Linked DNA regions of Homo sapiens: region 1 is linked to region 2. The links are contacts of gene promoters, found by promoter capture Hi-C in human tissues and cell types (Jung and others, 2019). All regions are on one chromosome and are shown on one strand. The core of a region is centred on a gene start or on the middle of the fragment in contact, and the rest is flanking DNA. Distances in the headings are between cores, read along the strand shown. Region 1 overlaps LOC124900875 (a long non-coding RNA gene). Region 2 holds the start of TRIML2 (tripartite motif family like 2).

What was found. Contacts are between HindIII fragments. The study calls those that stand out against the background at their distance.
Region 1: a fragment that was not itself captured here is called in contact with the fragment with the promoter of TRIML2 in region 2 in 1 of the 25 tissues and cell types used here (dorsolateral prefrontal cortex).

The regions. Positions count from the first base shown.
Region 1 is chr4:186,753,506-186,759,074 of GRCh38, reverse strand. LOC124900875 (a long non-coding RNA gene) reads left to right here. Exons shown (of 2, transcript XR_007058500.1): 2 at 68-312. Among named protein-coding and RNA genes, the nearest start is that of FAT1, 32 kb to the right of the region's middle. The HindIII fragment of the contact is 3,401 bases long and covers 2,576-5,569 here.
Region 2 is chr4:188,106,023-188,111,512 of GRCh38, reverse strand. It overlaps TRIML2 (tripartite motif family like 2), which reads left to right and starts at 1,910. Exons shown (of 8, transcript NM_173553.4): 1 at 1,910-2,270. It also overlaps the pseudogene FAUP3. RefSeq lists enhancers at 2,879-3,397, 3,398-3,916, 4,436-4,953. The HindIII fragment of the contact is 13,208 bases long and covers 1-5,490 here.

The DNA of each region.
Region 1 (5,569 bases), core at 3,027-5,526, 1.4 Mb after region 2:
CCATGATTCTGAGGCCTCCCCAGCCACGTGGAACTGTAAGTCCAATTAAACTTCTTTTTCTTCCCAGTCTCCGGTATGTCTTTATCAGCAGCATGAAAACAAGACTAATACACCCCCACACCATGGTACCGAAGACGGGACACAGCTGCTCTACTGATTAAATTCAACTGACGTGAGGTTGCAGCTATTCTATTCATATATTCACCATCCCATTCTTGATGATGTTCCTCAAGCTTACTTAACTTGCACGTGGATGCAGAAGAAAGGTTTCTTTTGAAAGACTGTTGTAAATAAAAGAGTCTGTAGTGCTTATGTTGTTGTTTGTTGACTGACTATAAAATAGATCCTTGCTGATTTGTACATTTGATTTCCCATGGGGCAGTAACAATATGAAAGTAGGATTAAGGCCGGGCACGGTGGCTCACCCCTGTAATCCCAGCACTTTGGGAGGCCGAGGCAGGTGTATCACTTGAGGTCAGGCGTTAGAGACCAGCCTGACCAACATGGTGAAACTCCATCCCTACTAAAAATACAAAAATTAGCCAGGCGTGGTGGCACGTGCCTGTAGTCCCAGCTACTCAGGAGGCTGAGGCAGGAGAATCGCTTGAACCCGGGAGGCAAAAGTTGCAGTGATCCAGGATCATGCCACTGTGCAGCAGCCAGAGTAACAGAGTAAGACTCCGTCTCAAAAAAAAAAAAAAAAGAAAAAGAAAAAAGTAGGATTATTATGTGTTTTTCCACACTATTGTCTTACTGTCTTTGTTCCCCTTCCTAAGTGTTCTTTTCGAATCGCACCAGGAGAGGGTTAGGATCACGGTAATAAGCCAACCCCAGGAATGTCTCCCATAACACATGAATTAAGTCAGCTGTGGCTTTTTAACACGCTTCGCCCAGTGGCTCCAGGTGCAGAGCGGGGCGGGCAGGAAGGGTCCCAAAGGACCATGAGGCAGTGCAACTCCTGACCGTGCACTGAGCTTTAAGAGCCTCAGTGCCTGGATTTGAGAATTCCAACCTCGGCATTGCAGCCCTTTTTTTTTTTTTTTTTTAAATAGTATGCCCATCTGTTGGCCTCATGAGCAAGCAGCTGCACGAGGGCCTGAGTATCAACATTCTTAATGTCAGGTGGTTGTGAAATTTTGCATTTGTGACAAAAAGTCTTCAGGGCCGTAATTAACAGAGTAGGGAATTTCAATTCGAATACTATAACTTCTTTAAAACTATGCCCATCTGCTGGCCTCATGTCCTCAACAGAGCTTGAGTCCTGAAAGCAACAGGAAAGGAAAATTACAAAATGTAATTGTTATTTCAATAAGTTTTGCAGAGAGGAGGGGACATGGTGGTGATGAAGTGGTGAGGAAAGAGGGATGGGCATGTTCGTAATTTACAAAGGAAGTAAGAGGAGCTGTTATAATTGGATTTCAATTCTGCTTTTCAAAATGTTCTCAGTAGGACCAGGCACAGTGGCTCACAACTGTAAGGACTTTGGGAGGCCAAGGCTGGAGGATTGCTTGAGGCCAGGAATGCAAGACCAGCCTGGGCAACATAGACTCTATCTCTACAAAAAAAAAAAAAAAATTCTCAGTAGAAATTGGGCTGTAGGTTTGGAGAGTCCTGGATTAATGTCTTACAATTAGCAAAACTCATGGTCTTTGTGCTTTCCTTCTCCCCCATGACCCCACTCCTTTCCAGCCTACCCCAAAATTTGAAAAGCAGCTTTATTTCCTTATGTAATATAGTAATGTGAGTAAACCTCACACTGATACTTTTTGTGGCCAAAGTGGGAGAAAGTTCCAGTAAAACGTTGTAACTATCCAGTCATGTTACCTGGGTATCCTTCCAGTCATTTTTTCTGTGTCTGTATATACATCTAATTTTACCCCAAAATTGAGATCACATCAGCATCATCTACTGAGCAACTATGGCTGGAATTAAGGATATAAAGATGAATAGGACATAATCTCTGCCCTGGAGACAAACCACATAACAGTTAAACAGATCATTCACCCTAGGGTGATAATGCTTCCTCAAGGAAGGCCCAGAGTGCCACCAATGAGAGCACTCCTGGACCCAGGATAAACAAGGCAGACAAAGCTTCCCAGAAGAGGTGTCACCTGCATGGAAGGATGAGGAGTTGATTAGATGACACAGGGTGAAGAGGGTGTTCCAGGTCAGAGGAGCAGGTCGATGGTAACAGCGTATTAATAGCTGTTCGGAATTGCTGAAGCATGCACTATCCACAATAGCAAAGACTTGGAACCAACCCAAATGCCCATCAATGATAGACTGCACAAAGAAAATGTGCCACATATATACCATGGAATACTATGCAGCCATAAAAAAGATGAGTTCATATCATTTGCAGGGACATGGATGAAGCTGGAAACCATCATCCTCAGCAAACACAGGGACAGAAAACCAAACACCGCATGTTCTCACTTATAAGTGGGAGTTGAACGATGAGAACACATGGACACAGGGAGGGGAAGATCACACACCAGGGCCTGTTGGAGGGTAGAGAGGGGAGGGAGAGCATTAGGAGAAATACCTAATGTAGATGACAGGTTGATGGGTGCAGCAAACCACCATGGCACATGTATACCTACGTAACAAAGCTGCACATTCTGCACATGTATCCCAGAACTTTAATTAGAAAAAAAAAAATTGCCGGAGCATGAAATGCCAGTGTGGAGGCTCCTCCACTGAGCAGAGGCCAGGTTGTGGAGGACCTAGAAAGGCGCGCCAAGGAATGTAGATTTTACCCCTTGGAAAACAGAAGCATTTCAATATGGTGTTGCTGTTTTGATAGATGATGGTGGAAGCATGTGAGGTTTGGATTTGAGACAGAACACACTATGGAAGACCAGTCAGGAGCCTAGAATTAGTCCAGGGAACAGAAAGCAAGGAAGAGGGAAAGAAATCCAAACTATTGGTGGTTAAGTTCACTGGACTTTGTGACTATTATGCGCATGTAGGAGTTGCAGGACAAAGAGTTACCCAGATTACCACCAAGGATGAGGTAATAATTATCTAATTCAGTTAGACAAGACAGGAAGTGAAGCTTGCCCTATGGCAGTGGAGGCAGACCAAAGCTGAGTTCAGTTCTCTGCATGTTGTGTGTAAGGTAAATATATACACAGGGCCAGTAGATCTGCAGCTTAAGTTCAGACAGGGGTTGAGGGATAGAGATACAAGGATAGAATTTATCTGCATACAAGTAAAAACCATGAGAGTAGATGGATTGAACTAAGGAGCATGTACAAAGTGAGACGAGCTGCAAGCAATGAGCTCTAGGCTTCATGCTTCAGAGGCTCCCAGGGTGTCAAGCTTTGTGGTCAATAGGTTGAAGGGTCTCTCACCAAACACCTGCGTAGTCATAAATCGAGATGTACCCACACTCCAAGTACAAGAGATAATTTATGAGTCAACCTTTCCTAAAAGGTTATTCCCAGTATGTTGACTGACTACAAGAATCATTCATTTATTTGACAAATCTTTACTAAGCTCTGTAAAGCAGGCAACAGTTCAAGACCCTGTTGGTGATGGTAGGAATGTAACGGCTGTTAGAATATGGAAATATTGCTGCCCCAGAGGGTATATCACAGTGGTTCTCAACTAGGGTGATTTTACTTCCCAGGAGACATTTGAAAATATCTGGTGACATTTTTTGGTTGTCATAACTGAGGGGGAAGTGAAAATGGCAACTAGTGGGTAGAAGCCAGAGAGATTCCTAAACATCCTACATCAGGACAGCAGCCCCCAACAGCAAAGAGCGATAACGCTCCCCAAAATGTCAGTAGCACCACGTTTAAGAAACGCAGGAATCCAGTCATGATTATGGGGTCCCTGCCAGTGTCCCCACCCCGCCGTGGCCTCTCCCTGGGTTCCGCCCCTCCCACTTTCTCCATACGAGCCACTGACGTGTTCTTGTATGCCCCTGAGTGAGCCTGCACACTTTGTTCAGCTTTATGGCCAGTGTCTGTTCTGCTTGGTTGGTGCCTGAGCCTTATCAGTTGTTAAATGTCTTAAATATTTTATAAATATTTATAAAATATGGTCTCTCTCTTTAATGAGTTCGTGAGAATCATCTACATGATGATTTTGACTGACATTCCTTCCTTTAAGAAAGATAAAACCTTCTACTAAATAATATGTATGACCAGAAAAATGAAGCTTTGATACACCTAGCTCTTTGTGAGGAGTTGGGAAAATATATATTAGTGGTACATGATACTACAAAAGAAAGAAAATAACATGATTATTGCCAACATAAAGGAAAATCTGGAAAAACTCTGAGAAATGTAAAAGGCAATGACCTGGACTCAGCTAGTTTATTCAAAAGTATATTAAGGTTAAAAAATTTAAATAATACTCAAAAAGATATTTGCAATATAGCAGGTGATAATAGGAAAGAAACTTTCCCTAAACAGTTGTTGAGCCAGTAATTTTCCATCCTTACACTTTTATATAAAGTTTATTAAATGTGAGTTACTACTACTATTTGGATACATTGTACAACATTTTAAAAGCTTTAACATAAACACTCTTAAAAATAAAATACCCCAAAGAAATTGCATAGCAAAGGAAGTCTGTTTTGAATATGTTTTTTCTTTCAGAACATCCTCACATATTGACATGGTTAGTTACTAAAGATAAACATAAAATATTAATCAGCCACCTACAGTGTTGCTGTCTCTTTGGTGCTGCTGAGAACTGGACAACTGAATTATGCTTATTAAAATGCACTGTGAATCAGAAAAACAGTTTGGTAAAGGCTTATTTTCCTGGTCATACAACTTAAAACAGGGTGGCATGTCTTTTAGTTCTCAAAGTTCTCCATTTCATCACAGCATTTAGACCTAAATAGGCAGCATTTGTGTAAAAGTAGTTTTCCCCAAAAAATATCTTTTTAGCCAACAACCTGGACTCCTCAAAAAATGTGTAAGTGACAGCTGCCTCCAAAGTATACTTTCATTTCTTTTGTTACTTGTAAAAGCAACTATTCTTTTTAGCCAGAAGATACTATTGCAGAAACAAAAAGGAAAACAAAAACAAAACGAGTTGTTCATCTCCACATAAAATTTAAGTCAATGTTTACATGAAAATGTCTTTCAATAACTTATATAAAAAATCCATTCCAGTTTTTCTGTACAAAAAGAAAAACATACACGAATCCAATGAGATATAATCAAAGTGCTTTTAAAAGTATAAAGTAGGCTGGGCGCGGTGGCTCATGCCTGTAATCTCTGCACTTTGGGAGACCAAGGCGGGTGGATCACCTGAAGTCAGGAGTTCGAGACCAGCCTGGCCAGCATGATGAAACCCTTTCTCTACTGAAAATACAAAAATTAGCTGGACATGGTGCCTGTAATCCCAGCTACTCGGGGGGCTGAGGCAGGAGAATCTCTTGAACCCAGGAGGTGGAGGTTGCAGTGAGTCGAGATCGCACCATTGTACTCCAGCCTCGGTGAAAACAGCGAAACTCCGTCTCAAAAAAAAAAAAAAAAAAAAAAAGTATAAAGTAAAAAACTAGTATCAGTACTTTCTTTGTCACGAGGAAATTGAAAATTTA
Region 2 (5,490 bases), core at 661-3,160:
GTGTTCCTTGTAATGTGATTACTCTAGCCCTATGAAAGCATCTCGTGATAAATTGTCATACAAATTTGAGGCATCTTTTTTGTAAATTGTCAAGCCATTTGATTAATATTTAATAAGGACAAATAATTATAATAAGGAAATATCATGAAATTTGGCACCCGATTCAAATTCCATATCTTCAATTTTCTGCACCCAGTGCTCTTGGTCAATTACTTAATCCCGTGACTTAATCTCTACGTCATCTACTTCATCAGCTGCAGATGTACCTCACGGGGTTGGAGCATGCAACAGGTGGGGCATGTAACAGTAAATAAGGGTTTAGCACACTTTTTTGTAATGTTTTTAGAATTATCTTAAAATATTGACTCTTCTAGAATTAATAATTTAATTATTAATAAATATTTATTTAATAGTAAAACAGGCTTTAATAAGTATTTATTTAAGCATTTAATACTCTAAAACAGGCTTTAAGAGACTTCAAAACCTGACAATATGCTTGATGTTTATTTTCCATTTGATTCAAAGATTACAAAGTTTTCTTGTCAAGATGAGTAAGCTCAAGAGTTATGAAAGCTCAAGGGATGGTGAGAGTAAATGACAGAGTATCTGACAACAAGTATGTGTGAGTATCTTCACAGACGTTGGCCGTACCCAGGCTTAGAAGAGAAAGGAAGATTGGATTAGAAAAATAAGAGAAGTAAAGGAGGATGGACTGGCTGAGGAGGGGAGGGGGCACAGGAATAAATGTGGTCTATTTGAAGAAAGCTGGGGAATTGGGTTTTGGAAAAGAGAGTGGGTGTAGGTAATCATCTGAGATAAGAGAAAGGGTGTATGGCCAGGCGCGGTGGCCAGAACTTTTGGAGGCCAAGGAGGGTGGGTCACCTGAGGTCAGGAGTTTGAGACCAGCCTGGCCAACATGGTGAAACCCCATCTCCACTAAAAATACAAAAATTAGCTGGGTGTGGTGGGCGCCTATAATCCCAGCTACTCGGGAGGCTGAAGTGGGAAAATTGCTTGAACCTGGGAGGCGGAGGCTGCAGTGAGCCGAGATCGCTCCACCGCACTCCAGCCTAGGCAACAGAGTGAGACTCTCATCTAAAAAAAAAAAAAAAGAAAGAAAAAAGAAAAAGAGAAACGGTGTATTGAGATTCCATAAGGTAGAACCAGGTTCTGAAAGATCAGATAAGCAAAGCAGAAGAATTCTCATTATCCTGTCAGCAGCATAAAGAAAAAAACTCCCTGGTTTGATTAGCAGGGGATTGACTGACTGATGCAATAAAAACCCTCGGGGACAAAACTATAAAACTTAGAAAGCTGTGAAGAGTTCCTCCTCACTGAAGCCAAATATCAAGTATGAATTATCTGGGATTGTTCCCTGACCTCCCATCTGTGACAGATTCCATAGGCAGTTATCCCTACTCTTGGTTTTTCTTTCCACAGATACTGGAATGAACACTTCTCCAGCAAACGTTCTAGAAACTAACAAGTCAGGCATTATTTTCTACTAAGGAACAAACACAGTCTTGAGTGTTAGCTCGAAGGCTTCTTTCCTGTGAAATTGTCAATATACACTAGATTCATTAAGAAAGAAAACCCCAAACCTTAAGGAGCTAGAGGTGTTAGGCACTGTACATGGCACTGGAGATAAAACAAGATATTTATCCAACCAAGGTCAGGGCTATTAAGCATTTTCTGGGAGTCCATTAAAAATGTAAATTACGGACCCCACCGTAGATTTCTGGAATCAGAGACCCTGTGAAGAGGCTTGCGTTTTAATAAACTCAGGTGGTTCTAATGAGATTAATTGTGTGAATATGATAAGAAACTTCACAGACGCCTTCCTGATGGTGTGAGGGCGGGGCTGAGGGAGGAATTGAACAGATAAAATCTCTTCAGTCTCCACTGTTCCAGCTTTTTCCCTAAAGGAAATACCTTGGTTCGGTGTGGTGACTCATTCCTGTAATCCCAGTACTTTGGGAGGCTGAAGCAGGCAGATTGCTTGAGCCCAGGAGTTCAAGACCAGCCTGGGAAAAATACTGAAACCCCGTCTCTACAAAAAATACAAAAATTAGCCGGGTGTGGTCGTGCAGCGCCTGTAATCCCAGCTACTCAGGAGGTCAAGGTGGGAGAATCACTTGAGCCTGGGAGCTCGAGGCTGTAGTGAGCCGAGATTGCGCCACTGCATTCCAGCCTGGGTGACAGAGCAAGACCCTGTCTCAAAAAAAAAAAAAAAAAAAAAAAAGGAAATACCCAGGATTGCTACAAAGAAAGTAAGTGAGATTTTCTCTATAGATCATTTTCTTAATAATTGTTTCTTTAGATTTCTAAACTTGATCTTAGAATCTATGTGTGTGTGTGTGTATCTGTGTGTTATCAGGAAAAAGCCTGAAGAAAAATATTAGGAAAAACAAAATAAGGGTAGACAACATGCTGGGGACTTAATTCGTCAATTTTCCTTTGCTGTTTCTGTAAAAATATTTAGTCTCTGTCCCTCTCTCATTACACCTTCAATTTTTACTGGTTTAACATAAAATATCGTTTACAATATTTATTGTGCATCGAGTATGTCAGATGTAGACACAGGGCATCTCAAGGACTTAGTTTCTTATGGATGGAGAGTGACCCACAAGTAAACTTGTTCATAGAAAGATAAAATCTTTTCGCTACTAAGAAAATAAAATAAGGAGATGAGTAGTGGGAAGGTATTTCAAATTGAGTAGTGATGGAAAGGTCTCTCTTGGGAAGACATTTGAGCTGAGAACTGAAGAGAAGAAAGAAGAGGCAGCTGGAATTGCAAAAATATGAGAGAAGAGCTCTGTTGGCCACGGAAGGGGGAAGGGCTGTGATGAATTAGAGGCAGCTAGATTGACAGTGATGGGGGAAAGCTATAGAGAGATCAGAAGAAGGCAGGAGGCCAGATTGTATAGGACGGGGTTATTACCCACTTCGATCTTACTCTAATGCCATAGAAAGTGACCACAAACCTGCTCACTTGGTTTTGGTTTTAAAATAGTATTCTGGTGGTTGAGCAGAGAGGAGCTGGAGATGGACGAGGAGGGCAGGACAGAATATAAATTTGGAAAACAATAGTTGAATTGGTGAAAGGAAGGCTTAAACTGTGGCTCTAAAGGAATGAGTTTGGGGGAAGAGAGCCACTGGGTTGAGATCCTGAGCGGCTTTAGATATGTTAATTTTGAGTGCTCCTTAGACATTCTATTGCAAAAATGTTGGGAATTGGGCAGGAGATTGAAATCGGAGAATGGAACTTAAATCTTCAGAAACGAGTAAGATTACCTAGGGAGAGACCAGGACTGGGAGACCAGAACTCAACCTTGAAGCACCCCAAGATTGAGAGGTTCAGAGGATGTGGGACCAGAAAAGGCCACGGAGAACAAGACCAGACAAGTTAGAGGAATGTCAGCTGCAGACAGATGAGAGAAGAAAACATTCTAGGAAGAAGGGTGTGGTCAGCTATGTTAACTGCTGCTGAGAGCTCAAGGAAAAATTTGAGTTGGTGAATTTCTTTGTTTTGGTGACTCAGTGGAGTCATCTCGGACATGTTCAGGGACCTAAGACACGGGAAACCAGCAGGGATTTCAAAGACCTAAGCAGAAGAAAGGATGAGAGCATCAAAAACAAGGAAGGAGGGAGAAAGTATTTGCAACTCACACAATTTACAGGAACTTGGATCTATAGCTCTCTCTTAAAATTGACCCCTCCCTCCAAAAAGGCCAAACCTGATGGAATAAACTGAGAGAGAGGCTTGAACATAGACTTCACAGCAAAAGAAGTGAAAATGGTTTTTTAGCATATGAAAATAAAAGGCTTAGACATATTAATAATATAACAGATGGAAGTTGAAAATATATGAATACACTATTTCTCACCCAGCCAGTGGGCAATGATCCAAAAGTTTAACATCTTTTTAATTTGTTGCTTGGAGTGCAAAATTGTACAACTTTTGTGCTTGGGAAACTGACAAAACATATCAAAATTATGGATGCATTCATTCACAGTCCTATTTGTGGGGAATATGCCTTTTCAGGCCAAGATTCTCAACTTTTTGGAATCAGTACTCCTTTGCACTCATTATTGACGAAGATCCCAATAAGCTTTTGTTTATGAGCGTTAATATCTATGTTTACTGTATTAGAAATTTAAAACTGCATTTTATAGTTATTCATTTAAAATAATAAAAACAAGCCAGGCACGGTGGGTCACACCTGTAATCCCAGCACTGAGGCTGAGGCGGGCAGATAACCTGAGGTCAGGAGTTCCAGATCAGTGTGGCCAACACGGTGAAACCCCGTCTCTACTAAAAATACAAAAAATTAGCTGGGTGTGGTTTCACGCGCCTGTAGTCCCAGCTACTCGGGAGGCTGAGGCAGGAGAGTCGGTTGAACCCGGGAGGCGGAGGTTGCAGTGAGCTGAGATCGTGCCACTGTGCTCCAGCCTGGGCGACAGAGATTCGGTCTCAAAAATAAATAAATAAGTTAATAAAATAATAAAAACAAAAACATTTTTCTGAGAAAAAAGTTTTCGAGCTAAGTGGCTTTTTTAATAGAGAAAGCCAGAATTACAAAGGACTTAAGAAGGACATTGGGGCCCTTCTTCTTGCCAAAGATGGGCACAACGTCGACAAAGCGCCGGTGGTACCGCACCCGCGGCTCAGCCCGGCCTGTCTTCTCGCTTGGCCACCTTAGCAAGAGTCTGACCTGTCACTTTCCCAGCGCGGGCCGGGGAACCACGGACTTGGCCTCCCGGGCAGTCGGGGCCTCCCACTTCGCCCTGGTCCAGGGTGGCCTCGCCCTGCAGGGACGCGCCTGCCAGGAGCACGATAGATCTTCCGGGGCGAAGCCCTCCAGTGGCGCTGCCTGAGCCGCGACCTGGGAGACCGTCTCCTGGCCGGTCACCTGGAGGGCGTGTAGCTCCGGGGCGCGGACCAAGAACTGCATGTTGGTGACTGAACCGCGGTTCCGGCTGCCGCCCCCGCGAAGATGGAGTCAAAGAGGAAGGAGCGAGGGCGCTCACGGCCAGACCGCGGGCAGCGCGTCACGTCACTCCTGAAATTTTATTTCGGAAACAATTATTGAGAAGAGTGGCTTTGGCTTCACTGTTTTGCAAATCTCTTTAATTGATGGCTTCTTAGAAGAGCCGTTTTCGGCCGGGCGCGGTGGCTCACGCCTGGAATCCCAGCACTTTGGGAGGCCGAGGCGGGTGGATCACGAGGTCAGGAGATCGAGACCATCCTGGCTAACACGGTGAAACCCCGTCTCTACTACAAAAATACAAAAAATTAGCCGGGCGAGGTGGCGGGCGCCTGAAGTCCCAGCTACTCGGGAGGCTGAGGCAGGAGAATGGCGGGAACCCGGGAGGCGGAGCTTGCAGGGAGCCGAGATCGCGCCACCGCACTCCAGCCTGGGTGACAGAGCGAGACTCCGTCTCAAAAAAAAAAAAAGAGGAGCTGTTTTCCCTTATTTGCTTCCCCAT